Regions from separate parts of the Homo sapiens genome. Here region 2 is linked to region 1. The links are contacts of gene promoters, found by promoter capture Hi-C in human tissues and cell types (Jung and others, 2019). All regions are on one chromosome and are shown on one strand. Each heading gives the region's core, a stretch centred on a gene start or on the middle of the fragment in contact. The rest is flanking DNA. Distances are from core to core; before and after follow the strand shown.

Region 1 (6,687 bases), core at 1,298-3,797:
ACATACTAGTTGCTGAGAAATCAGACCATAAATTTAAAAAGCAATTAAAAAAAAAAATCTAGCAGGCCAGAGAGGTTCTTTCCTTTGAAAACCATTCTTCTGTGGAAATAGCTGACAAATTCACGCAATACATTTATAAACATTTTAGGAAAACCAACATCACAGATATTTTAACTAATCCTACTCTTTCTAATCCTAAAAATAAACTACATAAATGACATATATGTATAAATTTTGGTTCTGTGAACTTGGATTAGTCTTTAAGAAACAAAGAGCATAGGCACGGCATAGTGGCTCACGCCTGTAATCTCAGCACTTTGGGAAGCCAAGGCAGGCAGATCACTTGAGGTCAGGAGTTCGAGACCAGCCTGGCCAACATGGTGAAACCCTGTCTCTACTAAAAATACAAAAATTAGCCAGGCATGGTGGCGCGTGCCTGTAATCCCAGCAACTCGGGAGGCAGAGGCAGGAGAATCGTTTGAATCCGGGAGGCAGAGGCTGCAGTGGGCTGAGATCGCGCCACTGCACTCCAGCCTGGGCGACAGAGCAAGACTCGGTCTCGGGGGAAAAAAAAGAAAAGAAAGAAACAAAGAGCATCCACTTTCCACCTTTCACACACAACACAGCCAATTAAATCAAAAGATTCCACTATCATAGCATAATACCCCTTGAGTTTTCAGGCAGATAAGACACTCAGACACACCTTGCTTGTTATAGAACAGGCCCAAATGAGACACAATAAAACGATGATTCCATGTTAGGAATTCCCTACCAACCATATCCTCCTCTTTTTGGTGACTAGATTGTAAAATAAGTCAATTAAGAGTTCATAACGGAAGTGCTGAAGCAACCGCAAATCCAGACACAAAAATACAGTGGAACGTATTCGCATCTCAAGCACGTCCAAATGTCTCGGCCAATGTGATCCGATCACTGCCGTTTCCAGAAACACACAGTAATGGCTTTTAATTCATTTCTATAAATGTTCGTTGTGCGTAAAGCCAAACTGCACGCAAAACCGCAAAACACAAAAGATCCCTCGCATGCCGTTTATAGCCAGAAGATAGGCCATCCTCTCTGCGCCCTACCCCAGAAAGCTCTCCTTACGGCAGTAAAAATTTGATGACACCCCATGCTACCTACACATCAAAATGTCATCCCACAAAGTGGAAGGGGAGCAGTGTCAGCATCCGTTGGCCTCCATGAAACGACACTGCCAGTATTCCCACCTCTAGGCAAACACGAACCCAAGTGAAGTCGATGGAAAGTTCCCACCAACCAGGCATATTTGGTTCCCTTCTGCCCCCAAGGCCAAGCAGCTCAACTGATGAGATCTGCTGTTGCACCTGCCACGGCTCTGAACCCGGGATGCTTGGCGACCCCCGGGGCACACAAAAAGGCCCTGCGGCCTAACGCGCCAGTGACCCTTCCCCGAGAGTGCATGGAGGGCCGCTGGAGCATCCCTCTCGCTGTCCACAGCGCCCGCTTCCCTGACAAAGGCCCCGTGTCAATCCATCCGAGACACAACACAGAGAAGTTGCTGGATTGCCCATCGCGGACCCGCAGCTGCCACTACCCTCTCCCGGAAAAAAACCAAACCAAACCAAACAAAAAAAACAGAACTAGGGAAGAAAAGGATGGGAGGGTACACAGCGTGAAAATCAAAATGTTCCCAAAGCTAAGCAACCTGGGTGTGCCCTGGAAGTGGGTCCTGGGGGCCCGTGGGGGAGGGGAGGGAGGGCCCGGGTGGTGGCGGTGGCTCCTCTGGGGCATGAAGGCCGAGCCAGGCGCTAGCCTAATAAAATGCCGGGTGTCGGAACGCTCAAAAGAAAACCACAAATGAAATCCCCTGCGGGCGCCAGGCCCCGAGGAGGGAGGGAGGGAGAGCGGGGCGGGCGGTCCGCAGACCTGCGGCCGCGGCCCCACCTGCCCGCCCCGCGCCCACACACACCTGCCCCGGCAGCCGCCGGGAGGCGAGGCCGCGGCTGAGGCGAGGAGGGGGCCCGACCCGGGGGTGCCGGGCGAGTGGGTCAGTCCGATGGCGGGGGCCGGGGGCCGCCTCGCTCACCTCCAGGTCGGTGTCCGCGGCCTCTGGGGCCCCGAGGATCTCGCTGGGCAGCTCGGCCAGGTCGGTGACCCGGATCAGCCCGTCGTGCAGGAAGATGGTCTCTTCCTTCACCGAGAGCCACTGCGCCGAGTCAGCGGCCGCCGCCGCCGCCGCCGCCGCGGCCGCCGACGAGCCCATGGCCCCGGCTGAAGGCTTGGCGCTGAGGAGCAGACGCCCGGCCGGGGGAAACGGAGCAGGAGCCGCCGCGATCACCAGTCCATGGCAGCGGCCGCCGCGCCCGCCAGCGGCGCCCCACTTGCTGCCTCGCCCGTGCAACTCCGCCCTAGGCGGTCCGAGTCGCCATACCCCCGACCCCGGCCCGGGAGACCCCGGCCCTGCCGCCGCCGCCGCCGCCGCCGCCGCCGCCGCCCTCAGGAGCAGGATCCGCCTCTGCCGCTCGGCAACCAACTGTCAGTGAGACGCCATGTTGGGGGCGGGGCTCCCGGCATGCCTCGCGGAGCGGACAATACAGGCCCCGCCCGCCGCTCCGCCCACCGCTCCGCGGACGAGGCCACCCGGGTGGCCTGGACGTCCGCCTAGCCCTTCGCTGCCGCCTGCCCTCGGCCTGACCTCCGCCGGCCCCTTCTCCCCCTGGCCATTCAGGGTAGCCCTGGCTTTGCAGCGCGCCAGGGAAGAGGACGCCGCTTCCCCCGTCCTGTCCCTACTCAGGTGTGCACCCCTTGCTCGGGCCCGCGCCCCCACCCTGGGCAGAGCATAGAGATCACTCCTTGTTTTCACGTTTAAATGAGATGCAAGCAAAAGGCTGGCGCAGAATAGGCGCTGCACACTTGTTCATAAGCACTTGGTAGAATCACATAGTAGATGATTAATATTGACTGAAAAGTCTAGTACCCAGTAAGCACTCAAAACCTGGTGAAAATAAAGCGTCTGTCCACAATGCTTGGTGCTCAATGCCCGACACTTAATATGTGCTCCATGAGTGGCAATTCTAATTATTGCTATGTTCGTTCCATCAGTGTTCCACACTAATTGACATACACCTTAAAAATATGCTCACTAGGCCGGGTGCGGTGGCTCACACCTGTAATCCCAGCACGGAGGTCAAGGCAGAAGGACTGCTTGAGCCCAGAAGTTTGAGGCCAGCCTGGGCAACATAGGGAGACCCCATCTCTACAAAAAATAAAAATTAGCGGGGCAGGGTGGCAAGCGTCTGTAGTCCTGCTACTCGGGAGGCTGAGGCAAGAGGATCTCTTGAACTCAGGAGGTGGAGGCTGCAGTGAGCTATTATCTTGCCACTGCACTCCAGCCCGGGCGACAGAGGGAGACCCCATCCCTCCCTCCCCACCAAAAATATATATATGCCCACCAGTGCCATTTTATAAAAACAAGAAAGGAAAACTATATGTATAAAGAACAATGCATGAACAAATACACACCAGATGTTTAAGGTGAGTTGCCATGGGAGTGTGGGGCTGGTCTGGAACTACTGAGATGAGATTGTTCTCTATTACTTGTATATTTTTATCACTTAAAAAATAATAAAACAGGCCGGGCACAGTGGCTTACACCTGTAATCCCAGCACTTTGGGAGGCCAAGGTGGGCAGATCACCTGAGGTCAGGAGTTCGAGACCAGCCTGGTCAACATGATGAAACCCTGTCTCTGCTAAAAAAAATACACAAATTAGCCAGGAATGGTTGCACATGCCTGTAGTCCCAGATACTCAGGAGGCTGAGGCAGGAGAATAGCTGGAACCCAGGAGGCGGAGGTTGCAGTGAGCCGAGATCATGCCACTGCACTCCAGCCTGGGCAACAGAGCAAGACTCCATCTCAATAATAATAATAATAATAATAATAACAATAACAATAACAGGAGAACATTAAGGTGCATACCCTTTGATCCAGCAATTCAACTTTGAGGAAGTTGTCTGAAGGAAATAATCAGACTCGTAGTCAAGGATGGATATACAGGGTTGTGTAGCTCAATATTGTTTACAAAAGGAAAAACTTATCAATCTAGATGTCCAACAATATGGGGCTGGTTAACTAAAATATGATATATCCATAAGATGGAATATTATGGCCGGGCACAGTGGCTCACGTGGGTAATCCCAACACTTTGGGAGGCCAAGGCTGGCAGATCTCTTGAGCCCAGAAGCTCGAGACCCCCTTGGGCAACATGACAAAACCCCGTCACTACAAAAAATACAAAAATTAGCCAGGCGTGGTGGTGCACACCCATAGTCCCAGCTACTCAGGAGGCTGAAGCAGGAAGATCGTTTGAGCCCAGAAGGCAGAAGTTGCAGTGATTCAGCTAAGATTATGCCACTGCACTCCAGCCTGGGCAACAGAGTAAGACCCTGTCTCAAAAAAGAAGAAAAGAAGAGGAAGAGGAGGAAGAAGAGAACAATAAATCCAGCAGTTCAGAGTTGATCAGAACCATGGAAACAATAAAACAGGCAAGTGTAATGGAATGGCCATTTCATCAAATCCTCCCAAATGTCTGAGAGGGGGAGTATTATTATTCCTACTTTCAGCTGGGAAGTCAAGACTCAGTTAGATACTTTGCTCAATGTCACAAAGCCAGTAAACATCAAAGCTCAGATGTAAACCCAGGTCTGTCCGATTTTACAACTTCAGCTTCCTTATTTTGACTGTAAGAAAACTCCTTCATTCCTTTTTTTTTTTTTTTTGAGACGGAGTCTTGCTCTGTTGCCCAGGCTGGAGTGCAATGGCATGATCTCGGCTCACTGCAACCTCTTGACTCACTGCAACCTCTGCCTCCTGGTTTCAAGTGATTCTCCTGCCTCAGCCTCCCGAGTAGCTGGGATTACAGGCGTGCACCACCATGCCTGGCTAATTTTTGTATTTTTAGTAGAGACGGGGTTTTACCATGTCGGTCAGGCTGGTCTCGAACTCCTGACCTCGTGATCTACCCGCCTCGGCCTCCCAAAGTGCTGGGATTACAGGTGTGAGCCACCGCGCCCGGCCCTTCATTCCCTTTTCCAAACCTAATAACAACTATCTATCACAATTAAAAATATATATATAGGCTGGATGTGGTGGCTTGCACCTGTAATCCCAGCATTTTGGGAGGCTGAGGCAGGCAGATCACCTGCGGTCAGGAGTTCGAGAGCAGCGTGGCCAACATGGCAAAACCCTTTCTCTACTAAAAAATATATAAAAATTAGCCAGGTGTCGTGGCGTGCACCTGTAGTCCCAGCTACTCAGGAGGCTGAGGCAGGAGAATCACTTGAACCCAGGAGGCGGAGGTTGCGGTGAGCCGAGATAGCGCCATTGCACTCCAGCCTGGGCAACAAGAGTGCAACGCTGTCTCTAAATAAATAAATAAATAAATAAACAAGCAAAATTAGGTGAGCATCGTGATGTGCAGCTGTAGTCCTAGCTACTTAGAAGGCTGAGGTGGGAGGATTGCTTGAGCCCAGGAGGTTGAAGCTGCAATGAGCCATGGTTGTGTCACTGCACTCTAGCCTGGGTGACAGAGAGAGACCCTGTCTCTATTATTTATTTTATTTTATTTTTTTTGAGACAGAGTCTTGCTCTGTCACCCAGGCTGGAGTGCAGTAGTGCAATCTTGGCTCACTGCAACCTCCATCTCCTGGGTTCAAGTGATTCTCCTGCCTCAGCCTCCCGAGTAGCTGGGATTACAGGCATGTACCACCACGCTCGGCCAATTTTGTATTTTTAGTAGAGGCGGGGTTTCACCATGTTGGTCAGGCTGGTCTCAAAGTCCTGACCTCAGGTGATCCACCCACCTCGGCCTCCCAAAGTGCTGGGATTACAGGCATGAGCCACTGCGCCTGGCCCATTTTATTTTATTTATTTATTTCGAGATGGAGTTTCACTCTGTCACCCAGGCTGGAGTGCAATGGCTAGATCTTGGCTCACTGCAACCTCCGCCTCCCGGGTTCAAGTGATTCTCCTGGTTCAGCCTCCCGAGTAGTTGGGATTACAGGCACCCACCACCACACCCGGCTAACTTTTGTACGTTTAGTAGAGATGGGGTTTCACCATGTTGGCCAGGCTGGTATTTTTTCATTTTTAAAAAAATTTTTTTAGAGATGGGCTCTGCCTGTGTTGCCTAGGCTGATCTCCAACTCCTAGCCTCACGTGATATTCACACCTTGGCCTCCCCAAAGCACTGGGATTACAGGCATGAGCCACTATGACCGGCCCATCACAATTTTTAAATGCTTAGATTCAGGACTCTAACCATCTTAAATAGTTCAGATAAAATTTCTTCTATACTTAGTCTTATTTCTTCTACTCTTAATGATGTTTTAAGATCAGGAGTCAAGGTGCCCAGGAACTCTTGTCCTTCAGCCTAAGTGATGAAAACAGCACAGATCTAGGGCTTAAAGTCTTTAGACTGCATAATGAATAGTTATTTAATATTTTAGCAACAGTAATTAATTAGTCATAGGACTGCATGGCTGCCACTGCACCATGATGAGGCAGCTGATGAATTAATATTTATAGAACCCCCTCCGGAAAGGAGACCATTTAGTAGGGATTTCTAGAACAGATCAGCAAGACAAAGAAAATGCCTGGTCAAAAGAACTTTAGGTTGGAAGCTACGAGGAAGAGAATCTGTATCTA
Region 2 (6,687 bases), core at 3,020-5,519, 51 kb before region 1:
GGTGGCTCACGCCTGTAATCCCAGCACTTTGGGAGGCCAAGGTGGGCAGATCATGAGGTCAAGAGTTCGAGACCAGCCTGGTGAAACCCCGTCTCTACTAAGAATACAAAAATTAGCCGGGTGTGGTGGCGCATGCCTGTAATCCCAGCTACTCAGAAGGCTGAGGCAGGAGAACTGCTTGAACCCGGGAGGTGGAGGTTGCAGTAAGCCAAGATCGTGCTACTGCATTCCAGCCTGGGCGACAGAGCAAAACTCCATCTCGGGGAGGAGAAAAAAAGGAAGTGTTTAATTAAATTATAACATCTCAAAATGAAATATTAATGATTTTTTATTTATATTAAATAAAACATTAAATTAAATTAAATCATTAAATAAAAAATTATTAAAACCACAATAGAAAGCAGTATAAAAATTGCATATGCCCTCTAATTAGGAGTCTGTAAAACACACTTGTTCAATTTTGAAATTAGTGTTTGTGAAAATAGAAACATGGATGTTATTTTTTCTCTGTTTCAAAAACAACAGACTAATGACAAGTTACATTGTTCATACAGAAGAAATGCTTAGAACATCTGAGTTTCCAAAGACAAAAAAAAGAAAAGCAGTCATAACTAGCACTGATAATTTTTCACACGCAAACGCTATCTTTCAATAACTGGTAGTCAAACAAATGGTGACACAAGTACCACAGGAAATGCTTTCCTTACATCAGTTCACTAGTCCCATCTGTTGTACTTTGGCAGCAGTTAATTTCAAATAATGTAGAGCTGATTATGTTCCTGGTTAGGACGGAAGACAGGATGGTAAATGGGAAAGACCCTGCAGATATTGGGAACTATCAATGAACAATAAAACCTTTCAATTTCCAAAAGGAAATGATGTTTAAAACTCAGGGTCACTTGGGCTCTAAGCAGATGAATTATATTACTATACTCCCCGGTATGGGACATTAACCAATTCAATTCATTATATGAACCTGTCAGCATAAAAGGAATTTATACTTGGATTATTTCAAAGGAGATCGACTGGCTAGACTTGCAACCTCAATGTAAAACTATTTATTTATTTATTTATTTATTTATTTATTTATTTATTTATTTTGAGACAGGGTCTTGCCCTGTCATCCAGGCTGGAGTGCAGTGGTGCAATCTCAGCTTACTGCAACCTCCACCACCTGGGCTCAAGTGATCCTCCCACCTCAGCCTCCTGGGTAGCTGGGACTACAGGCATTCACCACTATGCCTAGCTAATTTAAACATTTTTTAGAGGTGGGGTTTCACCATGTTGTCTAGGCTGATCTCAAACTCCTGGGGTTCAAGTGATCCTCCTGCCTCAGCCTCCCAAAGTGCTGGGATTACAGGCATGAGCCAGTATGCCCTGCCAATACAAAACTTTTAAGTAAAGGCAGAATACTGAAACCCTCTCAAATGTTAGAATAGATGCTTAAACCTTTCTACAGATTTTTTTTCTACCATTTTTCACATAATGAAGACAGCAATCATAGCCAAATTGAATTGCATGTTGCAATCAACAAAGACTTGAAAAGCTCTCATGCGAGCCAAGTAAGTACATCATGATGGGAGGGTGGAATTCTCTCTTACTAAAGCCCAAATCCAGGGTGGATCACTTATCAATTAAATTAGACCCTGAAGCTGCACGACCTTATCCAACTTGGAAATATGTGTTTATTCAAACTCACTTTTCAACATCTCTTATTTGTAAAAAGGGTCTTAAACCTAACTGAGAACGAGGATATTAAATTTCCACACTTTAATTCATGAGTTTTAGCCTCTAACTGGATGCCAAAACTGGAATGGACTCTGACTTCTTGCTAGATTTTTTAGTTTTGGCTAAGCCCTGCAAAACTTTCTCCAGCATATGGTGACTTTCCCAGATCTTCATATAACTGCTGGTGACAGCAGGATTGTCAGAATTGTGAGGACTCCAATACATAAGAAATTACTGTTCAAATTCTTTTACCATGAAAGTTCCATCTTGTTGTGGCCCCTGCCCAGTTTTCATCTTTTGTGCTGTCCCTTTGACCAGGGTTCTATTTTTCCATCTCCCTGCTCTTGTTGCCTGAATGCCTACCCGACTCAGTGTAAATCCTACCTTTCAAAATTCAGCCCTGCTCCATCAAGACCTACTTTGAGAAACTCTGATTTCCTCTCTTTCTCTTCCCCTTTCCAAAACAGTTTCTCTGAGTTTTCACAGTACTGTATACATACTTCTTATCAGAAAGTCAGCTACAAACTATAAGGAAAAGTGTTTTAGCTGTTTTAATAAGAATGTATTGATTTGTTTTGGGTTTTTTGTTTTTTTTTTTTTTTTTAACAGAGTCTCGCTCTGTTGCCCAGGCTGGAGTGCAGTGGTGCAATCTCAGCTTATTGCAACCTCCGTCTCCTGGGTTCAAATGATTCTCGTGCCTCAGCCTCCCGAGTAGCTGGGATTACAGATGTCCACCACAACATTGGGTTAATTTCTGTATTTTTGGTAGAGACAGGGTTTCGCCATGATGGCCAGGCTGGTCTCGAATTCCTGGCCTGAAGAGATCCGCCCACCTCGGCGTCCCAAAGTGCTGGAATTACAGGCATGAGCCACCACACTTGGCCTATTGATTTGTTTTTAATAAATGGTATCTCAGAGGCATCAAATCCATATCTAAAATTTTCTCCATGTTACAAAATCATTTTTTCATCAACATCAAATCTTGACAAAATAAATACAGATCATATACCTATGCTTAGTAATTAACAGAATAGAATTTGGAGGTTGGGTACAGTGGCTCACGTCTGTAATCTCAATACTTGGGAAGGCCTAAGAGGTAGGATCGATTGCTTGAGCCCAGGAGTTTGAGACAAATCTGGGCAACATAGTGAGACCCCATCTCTACTTTTTTTAATAAAAATATTTTTTAAAAATCAAAAATTTGGAGGACTAGCCGGGCGCAGTGGCTCACGCCTATAATACCAGCACTTTGGGAGGCCAAGGTGGGCAGATCACCTGAGGTCAGGAGATCGAGACCAGCCTGACAAACACAGTGAAACCCCATCTCTATTAAAAATACAAAAATTAGCCGGGCGTGGTGATGGGCGCCTGTAATCCCAGCTACTTGGGACGCTGAGGCAGGAGAATCCCTTGAACCTGGGAGGCGGAGGTTGCAGTGAGCTGAGATCGCACCACTGCACTCCAGCCTGGGCAACAGAGTGATACTTTGTCTCAAAAAAAAAAAAAAAGGAAGACATAGGACTAAACTCTTCAAAATGGTTTGAATACTATTGTACATTTTATTATTAGGAGTATTTAGAGAAAGAAGATATTTCCACAAAATTTCTGCAGACTAACTTTATCTGTTGCTTGAATTACATACTTAAAGACTAATATAGTGCAACATATTCACCAAATGCTTGGCATAAATATATTATGGTAAGAAAATCACTATTGACAATTTTTAATACAAAACTATAACAAATTTAAAAAGGAAACTGAACAGCTCTGATACGTGTAACAGTTACCACACTCCACTATGATGTTATTTATTTACAGTTTGTCTTCCCTTTCAACTGTGAGCCCCAAAAGGGGGAGACCATGTCATACTCATGTTTGTGTCCCCAGAGCTGAGCACAGTGTCTGGCACATAAATGTTTGATAAATTAATGAATGAGAAGATAAATAAATTCCAAGAATAATCCTCTTAGGGCTTACACCTGGTTTCCACTGTACATCTGAGTAATCCTCTCCCACTTGGACTAATTTTACTTTTGCCTTCTGGAATGATGGAAAATAATCCTCTCTCTTCCACATAAGAACCTTTTAATTAGATGAAGAAAATACATGTGGTGAGGGGGAGGGGACATCAGAATATGATTTAGGGCAGCTGTTCTCAATCCTGAATATTAGAATTGTTTTGACAGCTTTTAAACAAGAGTAGTGAGTTGGTCCCGCCCCGGTCTGGTTACCTCAGAATATGTGAGGATGGGGCCTAGGCATCGGTTTTTTTGTTCTGGTGTGTTTTGGTTTGTTTTGTTTTTTTTGAGATGGAGTCTCGCTGTATCACCCAGGCTGGAGTGCACTGGCATGATCTCGACTCATGCAACTGCCGCCTCCCGGATTCAAGTGATTCTCATGCCTCAATCTCCCTAGTAGCTGGGACTACAGGCACGTGCCACCACGCCCAGCTATTTTTTGCATTTTTAGTAAAGACAGGGTTTCACCATGTTGGCCAGGATGGTCTTGAACTCCTGACCTCAGGTGATCCTCCTGCCTCGGCCTCCCAAAGTGCTGGGATTACAGGCATGAGCCACCACACCTTGTCCAGCATCAGTTTTTAAAGCCCACAGGTGAATCCAATGTGCAGCCAAGATTTCAAACCACTGAGTTGGGGGAACTAGGTTCTATGCCAGCCTCTGCAAATAACTCTCCCTCCCCTTAGGCATTTTACTTCAGGTCTCTCAGTCTGTATTTCCGCATCTATAAAACGAGGGTAGCACCTCCCTTCATTTTACACAGTTGTTAAAATCTAAGGAGATCATGTACAGTCAATGCTCTGAAAAAGTTGAAATTGCTAAATAATTGTTATGACATTAAAGATACTCTTTCCATGTATAGACCAGATCACCAACAAGAAAGGGAATTTTTCCTGATGGTCATACAACAAAGACCTGACTAGATAAAAGCTGGGAGAGTCAGGGGTGGCATAAGCGAGGTTTGAGTTAAACACAAGCTTCACTTGAGCCAACACTGTTTTCAAAAGCTAATGCAATCTTAGAATGCATCAGTAGAATTCCAGTGTCAGGGACAAGGGAGGTAATAATCCCATTTATATTCTGCAATGGTCAAACTATAACTGGAATATCCTGTTCAGTTCCAAGTACCTCATTTTAAGAAGCCATTAAGAGACTAGAGTGTGTCCAGAAGAAGATGATTTGACTAATCTGGAAATCATGTCACATGAAAAATGGTTAAGGAACTGGGGATGCGTGGCCTACAGAAGAGACGGGTGGGAAGGGGGAGCTGTCTTCCTAAGACTGAAGGGCTGTCATGTGGAAGAGGAAGACCTATTCTCTATTATACCACAAGCAGAAATAGGAAGTTACTGGTATGCACAAAGCATAATAAAGAACTTTGATAATATGTCACTCAAACAGTGTGCATCAAAATCCCTGGATGTGCTCACTTTATATAAAGATTCCTGGGGCAGGGCGCGGTGGCTCACACCTATAATCCCAGCACTTTCAGGGGCTGAGGCAGGTGGATCACCTAAGGTCGGGAGTTTGAGACCAGCCTGGCCAACCAACATGGTGAAACCCCATCTCTACTAAAAATACAAAAATTAGCCGGTCCTGGTGGTATGAGCCTGTAATCCCAGCTACTGGGGAGGGTGAGGCAGGATAATTGATCGCTTGAACCCAGGAGGTGGAGGTTGCAGTGAGCCAAGATTGTGCCACTGCACTCCAGCCTGGGTGACAGATTAAGACTCTGTCTCAAAAAAAAAAAAAAAAAAAAAGATTCCTGGAATCCATTTCTAAAGATTTTTCCAGAGGTCTAGGATATTGCCCTGGAATCTGCATTTAAGCAAGCTCCTTGGGTGACTTTACGGACTCCTTTTATAAAAAATAATATAATCTTTATTAAAGATTTGTTGTAACATAATTCACGTACCATAAAATTCATCCACCTAAAATATAATTCAATGGCCTTTAGTATAATACATTCACATTTCAGAACATTTTCATCACACACCCCCACCCTACTGCAAAAAAAAAAAACAAAAATCCTGAACCCATTAGCAGTCACTCTCCATTTTCCCCAAATCTCCCAGCCCTTGGCAACCACTATTCTATTTTCTATATTTATAGATTTGCCTATTCTTTACATTTCATATAAATGGAATCATATTATGTGAGGTCTTTTGTAATTGGTCTCTTTCTCTCAGTATACTGTTTTCAAGGGTCATCCATATTTTAACATGTGTCAATATTTCATTCCTTTTATTGCTGAATAAAATTCCTTTGTATAGCTAGACCACATTTTATTTATCTATTCATCAGTTGATGGACATTTTAATTGTTTTCATTTTCGGCTATTACGAATAATGCTGCTATGAACATTCATGCACAGGTTATACAGACATGTTTCCATCCCCCTTGTGTAAATATCTAAAAATGGAACAGCCGAGTCACATGTTAACTCTATGTTTACCATCTAGAGGAAATGCTAGACTGTTTTCCTAGATGGCTGCACCATTTTACATTCCCACTAGCAACACATGAGGATTTTAATTTCTCCACATCTTTGGTGCCACTTGTTATTATGTATTTCTGATTATAGTCATCCTAGTGGGTGTGAAGTGGTATGTTCATGTAGTTTTAACTTGCATTTCTCTAATGGGTAATGACGTTGAGCATCACATCTTTTAATGGGCTTATTGGCCATTTGTATATCTTCTTTAGAAAAAAAATTATCCATTTTGAGAAACAATGATATTGCCAGATTAGTATGGACAATAGAGGCCAGACATGGTGGCTCATGCCTGTAATTCCAGCACTTTGGGAGGCCAAGGAGGGAGGACTGCTTGAGCCCACGAGTTCAAGACCGGGGCAACAGAGCAAAATCCCTGTATCTATTAAACAAACAAACAAAAAAAGCACAATAATGCAAGGGATAGAAAAACATCAAATGTTTAAG

The links. Contacts are between HindIII fragments. The study calls those that stand out against the background at their distance.
Region 2: a fragment that was not itself captured here is called in contact with the fragment with the promoter of HECTD4 in region 1 in 1 of the 25 tissues and cell types used here (adrenal gland).

What each region holds. Positions count from the first base shown.
Region 1 is chr12:112,379,884-112,386,570 of GRCh38, forward strand. HECTD4 (HECT domain E3 ubiquitin protein ligase 4) reads right to left here and starts at 2,548. Exons shown (of 76, transcript NM_001388303.1): 1 at 2,069-2,548. The coding sequence starts at 2,245. RefSeq lists enhancers at 506-1,006, 2,192-2,691 and silencers at 1,699-2,188, 2,199-2,468, 2,579-2,868. The HindIII fragment of the contact is 28,101 bases long and covers 1-6,687 here.
Region 2 is chr12:112,327,056-112,333,742 of GRCh38, forward strand. The region is part of intron 1 of HECTD4 (HECT domain E3 ubiquitin protein ligase 4); the gene reads right to left. Among named protein-coding and RNA genes, the nearest start is that of HECTD4, 52 kb to the right of the region's middle. The HindIII fragment of the contact is 6,026 bases long and covers 1,257-6,687 here.